Regions from separate parts of the Homo sapiens genome. Here region 2 is linked to region 1. The links are contacts of gene promoters, found by promoter capture Hi-C in blood cells and fetal thymus (Javierre and others, 2016). All regions are on one chromosome and are shown on one strand. Each heading gives the region's core, a stretch centred on a gene start or on the middle of the fragment in contact. The rest is flanking DNA. Distances are from core to core; before and after follow the strand shown.

What was found. Contacts are between HindIII fragments. The CHiCAGO score rates a contact against its expected background, and 5 or more counts as called.
Region 2: a fragment that was not itself captured here is called in contact with the fragment with the promoter of SPTY2D1 in region 1 in 1 of 17 cell types (total CD4 T cells); the score reaches 6.1 in total CD4 T cells.

Annotation. Positions count from the first base shown.
Region 1 is chr11:18,630,372-18,636,636 of GRCh38, reverse strand. It overlaps SPTY2D1 (SPT2 chromatin protein domain containing 1), which reads left to right and starts at 2,295. Exons shown (of 6, transcript NM_194285.3): 1 at 2,295-2,439. The coding sequence starts at 2,380. LOC105376578 (a long non-coding RNA gene) reads right to left here and starts at 2,288. Exons shown (of 2, transcript XR_931097.3): 1 at 1,676-2,288; 2 at 644-757. RefSeq lists an enhancer at 1,805-2,074 and a silencer at 3,131-3,310. The HindIII fragment of the contact is 3,460 bases long and covers 140-3,599 here.
Region 2 is chr11:17,277,805-17,283,490 of GRCh38, reverse strand. It overlaps NUCB2 (nucleobindin 2), which reads right to left. Exons shown (of 14, transcript NM_005013.4): 2 at 548-702. Among named protein-coding and RNA genes, the nearest start is that of NUCB2, 3.9 kb to the right of the region's middle. The HindIII fragment of the contact is 4,092 bases long and covers 1,374-5,465 here.

The DNA of each region.
Region 1 (6,265 bases), core at 1,046-3,545:
ACTCCATGTACATAGACTTGTACCAGTTCAAATGGGCTAACTGAAATATAGAGTCTGGTTTGGGTAATCTAAGGGTTCTAGTCTTGGCTCTCCGATTGACTAATGGTACAGTATAAGTCTAATTTCATCTCTTCAAGCTTCAGCTTTTCATCTATAAAACAGTAACAGGAAATGCCTTATACAACACTCATGATCAAGTCAGATAATCCATGTCAAGCACTAAGCATATAGTAATGGCTCAATGTATGCTAAGTACTACAATATTGAATCTTGGGAGCTTTCCACTTATCGATTCATTAATTTGGTCAAAAAATCTTTGTTGCAACTTTTATGTGCATTAGCAGGGAACTGTGCTGGTGATGGAAATAGTGATGGGTAAAATAGGCTTATGCCCATTTTCATAGCTCTGTCTATCACAGATATAGCCAATAGTTTAAAAAAAAAAAAGAACAAATATGTAATTACAAACTGTAAAATGTTGCATGAAGGGAAATACTGGGGGGCTGTAAGAATTTATAAAAGGGGCCCTGAGATAGCTCAGGAAGAGCTTCCTTGAGAAATGATGGTTGGCATTAATTGAAAACACCATATGCCAGTGTATTCGTTTGCTAGGGCTGCCAATAACAAAGTACCACAGACTAGGTGGCCTAAACAACAGACATTTATTGTCTTAACAATTCTGGTGGCTAGAATTCCATGATCAAGGTGTGGTTACCTTGAGGTCTCTCTCCTTGGTTTGTACATGGCTGTCTTCTCCCTGTGTTTTCACAAAACGATGTAGGAAAGAAAGGCTAATCTATAATCAGAGGAACAAACGCAGCTGCCTGTTATGTAGCTCAGGTTCCATAATAACATTCTTTTAAGGCGCAAAATAACTTAAAGTTCCAACAGCTTTGATTTTGAATTACGTTCGCAGCATTAAACCATCAAAGAGTAAGAGCCAGCAGCTTTGTCTAGCATGTTTTTTGTTTTTTTTTTTTGAGACGGAGTCTCGCTCTGTCGCCCAGGCTGGAGTGCAGTGGCGGGATCTCGGCTCACTGCAAGCTCCGCCTCCCGGGTTCACGCCATTCTCCTGCCTCAGCCTCCCAAGTAGCTGGGACTACAGGCGCCCGCCACTACGCCCGGCTAATTTTTTGTATTTTTAGTAGAGACGGGGTTTCACCGTTTTAGCCGGGATGGTCTCGATCTCCTGACCTCGTGATCCGCCCGCCTCGGCCTCCCAAAGTGCTGGGATTACAGGCGTGAGCCACCGCGCTCGGCCTGTCTAGCATGTTTTAACAGCTTGACATATTTACATACTGTATCATTCTCACCCGTCTTAAGTGTACGATTTTTAGTACATGTATAGTGCAACCATCCCCACAATCCAGTTTGGAGGCATTTCCATCCCACCGAAAAGATCCCGAGTACCTGTTTGCTATCAATCCCCTGGCGGGTTCCCACTTGCAGACCCAGGTTTGCCTAATTATTTTCAGTGTTTTTGCTAAGTCGAAATGACCTTACAGATCCAAGATAACTCTCCAAAAGAAGTCAGGACTAGGATCCCAATGAATATGAATATGAAGCATATGTTCATCAGTACACCAAAGTTATGTCAAGGCTGGGTCTGTATGTGAAATTCCTTAATCCATTGCCTGAGCAAAAACACAGGTTGGCTGCTCCACATAAAACTTACTTTCTAAACGGGGCAAAAGAAGTAAGCGCGTGCCCCCATCCCCGGCACGCGTGCATCTGAGTAGGAGGTAAGCGCACGGCATGTGGCCGAATTTGATGAGTAATGGGCATCCAAGACAGGACCACGGCGCTGCTGTGTGCGCCTGCGCAGCTTCGCGAGCGCCTAGACACAAGTAGCCCAAACCCCGGCTCGAGATCCGTCTGTTCAGCTGTTGTGGCGCCGCCGTTTTGGATCTAAGCGCCTACCCGTGACACCCAGAGAACCCAGGCCTGGCAAGTAAACCCTCTACCCCCTCACTTTCTCTACCCAGCGCTCACAAGGAGCAACAAGATGACAAGACCGCGCGCCCGGGCCACCAGGGAAGCCGCTCTCTCGCTTAGCCACACCCCCTTGGTTGCTAAAATGCCTAGTCCCTGCCCCTCGGGTCGACGCCAGCAGCCACGTATCACGTTTGTACGTGTCTCGGCCTAAAAGCGGAAGTTACGCAGGGACTCGCGAGCGCTGTGGCGGCCCTGAAAGGATATAGGCCGTGGAGGGAAGGGGGCGGGCAGACGGCATAGGAAGGCGCCGGAAGTGGTCCCGCAGAGGCGGGGTGGGAGTGGGGCTCCCGAGGCAGTGCAGTTGGCTGTAGCTGGGCGCCTCGGTTAGGTGCGCTGTCAGTCCTTTCCGAGTGCCTGGCCCAGTCTCTCCCGCCTCGGCCCAACATGGACTTCAGAGAAATTCTCATGATAGCTTCCAAGGGACAAGGTGTCAACAATGTGCCGGTAAGTAGCAGCTGGGGCATCAATGTAGGGGACCCTAGTCTTCCAAGTTCGGAATGTGTGTGGCCCATGGAACTTCTGGGCAGCCGCCTATCGGCTCCGGGAGAGGAAAGACCCGGACGCCTTATTTCCTTTTCTTGGGTTTATACTCTTGGGAACTCGGGAGAAAAGAGCTTGGGACGAGACGCGGGAGCCTTCCTGTGAATGGGTTTCGCCGGCTTATTTACCCCTGCAACAGGGACTTTGCGGTTTGGGTGTTGTAGCTAGAATTGCGTGAAAGCCGTGAGTGAGCTGTGCCTGGCACGCTGTGGATTCTAGCGCTGGTAGTTTTTGGCTTCCACATAAACTTCAGCCTAGAGATTGGGAAGGAAATATGTATGTAAGGGAGTTAGGGGGTTTGGGGTCCTTGGCTTGATAGCTTTTTGGCTGGCTTCTCATCGATCTTCAAGTCAAACGTTTAGCGATTTCTTGAAAGAATTCTCTGACTCGGCCCCACCCACTCAGCCACCGAGGTGATTAAATTATCACCTCCCAGGGGATAGGTATCATCTTTTGGGAAGAGAAGTTTAGCAGATTCCACGAAATCCTTGGCCAACAGAATAGGTGAGCTAGTTTCAGCTTCTGTTTACTTGTAGCCTTCCAGATTTCAGTCTTTGTTTAAAATCTAGGTCCCATTTGGTCAGTAGATGTTTGTCAGTTCGCTTACAGTCGCAAGAGCGGTGTAAGACTTAAATGGTAAAGTGGTGGAGAGCGCCTGGTTTCTGGGGGTTATGGCTGTTTTGCATAAGCTAATCATTTCCAGATTTTCAGATGGTACCCACAGCACAGCTGTAAACCGATAAGTTGCATGGTGATGCCTGCGGTTTGAGCAGTGAGGTATAGAACTAAAACGGCTCTCAAAGTCAATTCAGCTAGAATTTATTGAGCTCCGACGAAGTGCTCTGCATTTCCTAGATATTCGTATATTGCAATATTCGTTTTTTTCTCTTCTGCAGCTTTTTTTTGTCTTCTGAGGCTAGTTCATTCTTTTATCCCTTTGAAAATATTGATCTGAAAAAGGTCTATATTTATGTTTATAAATATATGTATATATACACACACACAGCCATCCCTTATCCCAAGAACTCTGAATAACCATTCCTCTAAGCCGTGAGTCATAAGCTTTGCATGTTGAAGGTATAGACTCAAACCTTTGAAACCCAGATCAACAGATTTACTTTCTAGAAGCATCTGTAAATTTTCCAGATGAATCAATATTGGGTCTAGTAACCATTCATCTTTGCATAATTTGGTCTGTATTTCATTCTAGATCTTATTGAATTTCAGTAAAGGTCAAAGATAGTACTAGCTTTGATGCCCAGTACTGTTCTGTGGAAGAATCAGAACTAAGTCATTTCTTATTCTGAAAGCCAGTAGCTGCTGGGAGAAAAGCAGACAGATAATCCTAAAGCAGAAAATTTCAAAATATGTGTATATGTCATAATATATGCATTATCTATGATTGGAATAACAGAAGAATCAAAAAGGGGAAAAAAGTAATTTAAAATTTAATAGATGGGCGCAATGGCTCAGGCCTGTAATCCCAGCACTTTGGGAGGCCTAGGCGGGAGAATCACCTGAAGTCAGGAGTTTGAGACCAGCCTGACAAATATGATGAAACCCCATCTCTACTAAAAATACAAAAATTAGCCGGGCATGGTGGTGTGCGCCTGTAATCCCAGCTACTTGGGAGGCTGAGACAGAATTGCTTGAACCCAGGAGGCGGAGATTGCAGTGAGCTGAGATCGTGCGATTGCACTCCAGCCTGGGCAACAAGAGAAAAACTTCATTTCAAAAAAAAAAAAATCAATAGATAATATAGCCATATATTTTATGAATCATGCATTCTCTGACCTCTCCCCGCCAAAGCTAGTAAGCCTAGAAGTTTGATTTAGTTACCAGCATTATAATTCTTATCTTTTTATGTGGAATTAAAGTCACAAAAGAAACTATTGAGGAATAGGATAAGACTGTAGTTAAATTTCTTCTTCTTCTTTTTTTTTTTTTTTAAGATAGAGTCTCACTCTGTCGTCCGGGCTGGAGGCTGGAGTGCAGTGGCATGGTCTCGGCTCACTGCAGCCTCCACCTGCTGAGTTCAAGCAATTCTCCTGTCTCAGCCTCTTGAGTAACTGGGACTACAGGCACCTGTCACCACATCAAGCTAACTTTTGTATTTTTGGTAGAGACAGGGTTTCACCATGTTGGCCAGGCTGGTCTTGAACTCCTTCCTCAAGTCATTCGCCCACCTCGGCTTCCCAAAGTGCTGAAATTACAGGTGTGAGCCACCACACCCGGCCAAATTTCATGCTTTACTTGATTTGCTTTAACTTGATTCATCTAACTGTTCTATTTACTTTTTCCTTATCAGCTTAAAGTAATTTGGACACTTTCAAACATAAGGAATGTTAACACATTTCTAATATACCCAAACCCCGTATTTAGCATATTAACATTTCCCCATATTTATTCCATCTATTTTAAAAGAAATAAAGCTTTTTTTCTTTTTTTGCCATCTATTTTAAAAGAAATAAAGTGTTTGGTGGTTTTTTTTTTTTTTTTGTTATCTATTTTAAAAGAAATAAAGCTTTTTCTTTTCTTTTCTTTTTTTTGAGATGGAGTCTCTGTTGCCCAGGCTGGAGTGCAGTGGCGAAATCTTGGCTCACTGCAAGCTCCGCCTCGCAGGTTCAAGCCATTCTCCTGCCTCAGCCTCCTGAGTAGCTGGGAATACAGGGGTGCACCACCACGCCCAGTTAATTTTTTTGTATTTTTAGTAGAGATAGGGCTGGTATCAAACTCCTGGCCTCAAGTGATCAGCCCACCTCAGCCTCCCAGACTGCTGTGAGTACAGGTGTGAACCACTGAGCCAGGCCTGTCTTGAAATGTTTCTTGACTTCGATGGTAGCTTAAAAGGATACTTGCTTTCTAATAATCTGTTACCCTGTACACTATGTCTATGATTTTCACAATTATTAAAAACAAAGAGAGAGTTGGGGACTATCGTATCAATTAACAGCTTTATTTCTGGCTGGGTGCTGTGGCTCACACCTTTAATCCCAGCACTTTGGGAGGCCAAGGTGGGCAGATCACCTGAGATCAGGAGTTTGAGACCAGCCTGGCCAATGTGGTGAAACCCCGTCTCTACTAAAAATGCAAAAATTAGCCAGGCATGGTGGGGCACACCTGTAATCTCAGCTACTCAGGAGGCTGAGGCAGGAGAATGGCTTGAACTTGAGAGGCGGAGGTTGCAGTAAGACAGAGGTTGCAGTGAGTGGAGATCGTGCCACTGCACTCCAGCCGGGGTGACAGAGCGAGACTCTGTCTCAAATGAAAAGAAAAATAAAATAAAATAAAAAAAGACAGCTACATCCCTCCCTGCCCTATACACACCCTGCTGTTATAAATTTACTTGATTAATTGATCTGAGAACCACAGAGGCTTTGCAATAACTAACTAGGCTGCATCTCTCTCTATTGATTGGTTCATTTTTCCCTGTTCGCCAACTTCTTCTCCCACCTTCATTTGGAACCTATCAGAGCTAATGCTCAGAATTTCAGTCTTCAGAGTTCTTGGGTCAGACCTTTACTATGGTAAGGAAATCCAGTGACTAGCGATGATTAGACTAAAATCCAAACACCTGTACAGCCACTTCAGCCTTTCAGACTCTTTGCAGAGCTTTTTGTTGTTATTTTGAGACGAGTCTCGTTCTGTCACCAGGCTGGAGTGCAGTGGCGCTATCTCTGCTCACTGCAGCCTCCACCTTCTGGGTTCAAGCGATTCTCCTGCCTCAGCC
Region 2 (5,686 bases), core at 2,170-4,669, 1.4 Mb after region 1:
AGTGGTTATCACAGCTTACAGATTTCAGAGCTGAAAGATAAAAAGATTCATATCATGGCAGACACTTCTATTTGCTTGCCAATATCCAAATCTTTCCTTCCTTCTCAGTAACAAAAGCCCAATTTTATAGAGGGCAGACATGCAGTCAGCTACATTTCCCTGCTTTCTTATAGCCTCAGCCTTGGTTCAGGAATTCTCCTTAAAGGAAGAGGATGCATCTTTCTTCGCCTATGCTTTGCTGCCTGGAACATGACAGTGATGGTTAGAGCTCTGGCAGCTATCTTGGACATACAAGAACCAGTACTACAAGAATGTCTTAGGGATCACTGATAAAAGAACTGAAAGAAGCTTAAGTCTCTGATGACTTTATAAAGCCACTATACCCATCCTAGAGTGCTATTTCAATTATTATTTTATATAAAAAATAAATATTGCATGTTTAAGCCATCTGTGAGTTCGTTTTTGGTTTTTCCTTTTTTGTATTTTGGTGGTGGTGGTAGTGATAGTCATGTTTCTTTGCAACCAAATGCAATTATTGAGTACTTACGTTCAGGCAGGTAAATAATTTTTATCTCCTTTTTACAGATGAGACAACTGAGATCCAGAGAGGTAAGATGACTTGCACAATACCAAAATAGTGAAGAGATGGGTCTTGGCTCCTAGCTCAATGTTTTTTCACTAAAAACTGACTCGTAACACGTTCTAAATGTAAAAAAAAATAAAAATAAATAAATAAAAGACACAAAATCACAAAATTTAGACTTTTTACAGTGGTAATGGTACATGATAGTGTATGCATTTGTCACATAATGTGAAAAGTGCCAAATTTTTATGATGTGGAAGGAGACTAAATTATATCATATTCCATTAAGGAGGGGAGAAAGATACATGAAATAAACAGAATCAAAAACCGGAATAAACAAAGATGTTGGCCGGGCACGGTGGCTCCTGCTTGTAATCCCAGCACTTTGGGAGGCCGAGGTGGAGAGATCACCTGAGGTCAGGAGTTCAAGATCAGCCTGCCCAATGTGGTAAAACCCCATCTCTACTAAACAAATACAAAAATTAGCCGGGCATAGTGGCAGGTGCCTGTAGTTCCAGCTATTCAAGAGGCTTAGGCACAAGAATCGCTTAAACCTGGGAAGCAGAGGTTGCAGTGAACCGAAATGATGCCACTGCACTCCAGCCTGGGTGACAGAGCGAGACTCTGTCTTGGGAAAAAAAAAAAAAAATATATATATATATATATATATAGATAGATAGATAGATAGATATAGATATAGATATATAGATATAGATATAGATTTATTATGCCCAAATTTTCCTGTATTCCTCCACTCTTGAATAACTAGGAGGAATTCAGATTAAAAGCTTATTTTTTTCAGCAATGAGACTTCAAGATATAGGGCAACTTTTCCTGTTAAATCCTTAACTGGAATTTTTCTTTACTCTTACCACCAATTTAAAAAAATTAACTTTGTTCCTAGTTTGTCACAGAGATCAGTAATAAGATGAAATATTTCAAATTCTTTTTTGAAACCCCACCAAATAACATGTAAAACATAAATCAGCTCATGTGCAAACTCATTAGTAAACATAAGCAGTTATTTCTAAGTAGTCTGTTAAAAAAAAAAGCAAATAAAATATTTTCAAATTTTAAGGAGACATGTATTTCTTGTTTTACATATGGTATATTTAACATAAAATAATCTATGCAGGAGAGTAATCACATGCATGTTGTATTTTGGAAAGTTATATGACTTTTATTGACACAACATGGTAAAAAATAAACACACAAACAGGAGATTAAATCCTAACTTCCCCCATTTACTCGCAAGCTACTTGCCTCTGAGTCTTGATTTTCCTACCTAGAAAACTGAGCTCATACCTCTTCACAGGTTTGTTGATGCGAGGAAAATAAGAATGAATACAAAGTAACCAGCACAGTGCATGACAATGGTAATTGCTCAATAAATATTAATGCCCTTCTTGTCTTGAAAAGGAAACATAAAGAAATATGAAAATCTGTTCTGTAAACACCCAAAGTGGTAGAACTTAAAAAGCAAGACCAGGTTGGGCATGGTGGCTCACACCTATAATCCCAGCACTTTGAAAGGCTGAGGCGGGTGGATCACTTGAGCCCAGGAGTTCAAAACAAGCCTGGGCAACATGGTGAAACCCCACCTCTACAAAAAAAAATCAAAAAATTAGCTGGGTGTAGTGGTGTGCACCTGTAGTCCCAGCTACTCAGGAAGCTGAGATGGGAGGGTTGCTTGAGCCCAGGAGGTCGAGCCATGCATACCAATGTACTCCAGCCTGGATGACAGAGAAAGACCCTGTCTAAAAAAAATAAATAAAATAAATAAATAAAAATTAACGACACAAAAAGCAAGCAAGACCAGTTTGACATACAACTTTAAAAGTAATTTTTGTTTTCGTTTTTGTTTTTTGAGACAGGGTCTGACTCTACCACCCAGGCTGGAGTACATTGGCGCTATTTCAGCTCATCAAAACCTCCACCTCCCAGGCTCAAGCCATCCTTCCGCCTCAGCCTCCAGAGTAGCTGGAACTACAGGCACGCACCACCACGCCCAGCTAGTTTTTAATATTTTTGGTAGAGATGGGATTTCACCATGTTGCCCAGGCTGGTCTCAAACCTGTGAGCTCAAGTGATCTGCTCACCTTAGCCTCCCAAAGTCCAAGGATTACAGGCCTGAGCCATCATGCCCGGTCTTACAGTCATTTTTGAAAGGCCACATTAGAGCTCTTCTCTGAACATTGCCAGAACCAAAGTCCTGATGCAATCATAGACCAATGAAAGCAATGCATCCAACATAATCTCTTCCTTCCAACCTTAAATCAGAACTGTAGCAAGAGACTCAGGTTTCCTTCTCTAAGACACTGCCTTGAGCTAGGAAACGTGGATTGCTTCTTCTTACTATCAATGTCACAAATCTAATGATGAAACAGGGTAGGGTGAAGAAAAATAAACGGCTTTTGAGTTTCTCCATGGCACCAGTTTCAAAGGCCACAGATAACCTGGTGCTCACCTCCATTTTCCCTTTGAAAATGAAAGTCAACAGGAAAGTGAGGTTCAAATAAAATATCAAGTGTATGACCAGCTGAGTTGGACTCCAGCTTTTCCCTGATCAAGACATTAGTATAGATCTTAGAGCCTCTGTTGTCTACATCTGTAGAAAAGGACACTCATCAATGAAACTATTATATCTCCTTTTTTTCCAGTCTTAACAACGGATTGGAGTATCCTAGATTATAGGCTTATGAAAAACAGATCTGTATCACTCAATAAACATATTATTAAAATTATAATCTCTTTATTATTTACATATACTGTACTTCAGATAATTAAAATACACTGCCAAAAAAAACTCTGCCAAGGCCAGGTGTAGTGGCTCATGCCTGTAATTCCAGCACTTTGGGAGGCCAAGACAGGCAGATCGCTTGAGCCTAGAAGTTTGAGACCAGCCTGGACAACATGGCGAGGCCTCTTCTCTACAAAAAAATACTTAAAAATTAGCAGGGTGTGGTGGCATGCTCCTTTAGTCCTAGCTACTCAGGAGGCTGAGGTAGGAGGATCACTTGAGCCTGGCAGTTCCAGGCTGCAGTGAGCCATGATCACACCACTGTACTCCAGTCAGCCTGGGCAACAGAGTGAGGCCCTGTCTCAAAAAAAAAAAAAAAAAAAAAAAATGCTCTGCCAAAAATAAAATCAAGTAACTACTATCTGAACTTCTATTAGGCTGCTTTAGGATTTTAGAATCAGAGAATTCTAAGATCAGAAATAATCTTGGAGGTACAGTAGTCCTCCCTAATCTGCGATTTCACTTTCTGCAGTTTCAATTACCTGAGGTAAAACAAGATATTTTGAAAGATCACATTCATATAACTTTCATTTCAGTGTATTACTGTTATTCATTTTATTATTATGTATGTATAGCAAAAAACATAGCGTATATAAGGGTTGGTACTACCTGTAGTTTCAGGCATCCATTGGGACCCTTGGAACATATCCCTCTAGGATAAAGGAGGACTACTGTAATCTAATTCAGCCCTACTTTTATAAAAGGTTATAAATACAGAAGGAAGTTAACTGACTTGGCCAAGTTCGTTTGGCAGAGCCCGTACTGGAATCTGGCCATGAAATTCTAACTAAGTATACTTTTCACCACATCATGGTTGTAAAAAAAATTTTTGATTGGAAATAATGAAAGTGATTGAAGTTTTTCCTTGAATAAATTATTTGAAATTGTTAGTAGCCTGTTTTTTGTTTTGTTTTTGAGACGTAGTTTCACTCTAGTTGCCCAGGCTGGAGTGCAATAGCGCGATCTCGGCTCACTGCAACCTCCGCCTCCAGGTTCAAGCGATTCCCCTGCTCCAGCCTCCTGAGTAGTTGAGATTACAGATGCCCGCCACTACGTCTGGCTAATTTTTGTATTTTTAGTAAAGACGGGGTTTCACCATGTTGGCCAGGCTGGTCTTGAACTCCTGGACTCAAGTGATCCACCCGCCTCAGCCTCCCAAAGTGCTGGGATTACAGGCATTAGCCACCATGCCCGGCCTAAAGGATTATTTTCAATACATTTTTAAATCCTGCACTTGCTTCTGCCAGCTACCCAGTACTCAAAAGGGTATTTTGTAGAACCCAGCCTTCAAAAGGGTCCTTAGAAAGTGGAAAGTAATTTACATATTATTCTAAGTAATGCAAAATTAGTTTAGTATGTGTTCAGAGATTAATAACATATCCCAAAACAAAAAAGACATCTGAATTGATGTTATTGATATTAGTGCCCATAATTAGTTGTGTCTTGAAAAGTACCTTAATTGTCTTAATTGTGCATTTTATCTCAACTGTTATTCACAGAGCGCAAACCAACTTGGCAAAAAGCATGCTGAAAGAATATATACAAAATACGTGATATGAACAATATGTACCTTGGGAGAGCAAAGAAAGGTAAACACAACATAGACAGATTCGACTCTTAGAACATGGGTCGTCCAGGCACGGTGGCTCACACCTGTAATCTCAGCACTTTGGGAGGCCAAGGCAAGTGGATCACCTGAGGTCAGGAGTTCGAGACCAGCCTGGCCAACATGGTGAAACTTCGTCTCTAATAAAAATACAAAAAATTAGCTGGCTGTGGTGGTGGGTCCCTGTAATCCCAGCTACTCGATGGGCTGAGGTAGGAGAATCCCTTGAACCCGGGAGGCGGAGGCTGCAGTGAGCTGAGATCGGGCCATTGCACTCCAGCCTGGGTGACAGAGTGAGACTCCATCTCAAAAAAAAAAAAAAAAAAAAAAAGATGGGTAAAATTTGGATAGAGAAGAGCATGAGTAAACACACGGAGACAGAAATAAATTTTTGCCTCCTTTAAGTTTCTAAAATTGTCTAGTTAAAAAAAAAATTTGACCCCCTACTACAAAGGTAGATGAGATCATGGAAAGCTTGAAGACCACGATGAGAAATAGAAGTTTCCATGTTCATCCTAATTAGGAGAGTGACATTATTTGAGATTTCATTTCTAATTCTAAATTTCCAGAATTTTAATTTTTGACCCTATTAGCTGAAGAAGATTTGTTGAAATATTTGTTCAACATTTGTTGAACTTATTCAAGTTTCAAAAAACAAAAACATTCCTTAAAGCATCTATCTCATCAATTCTTTAAC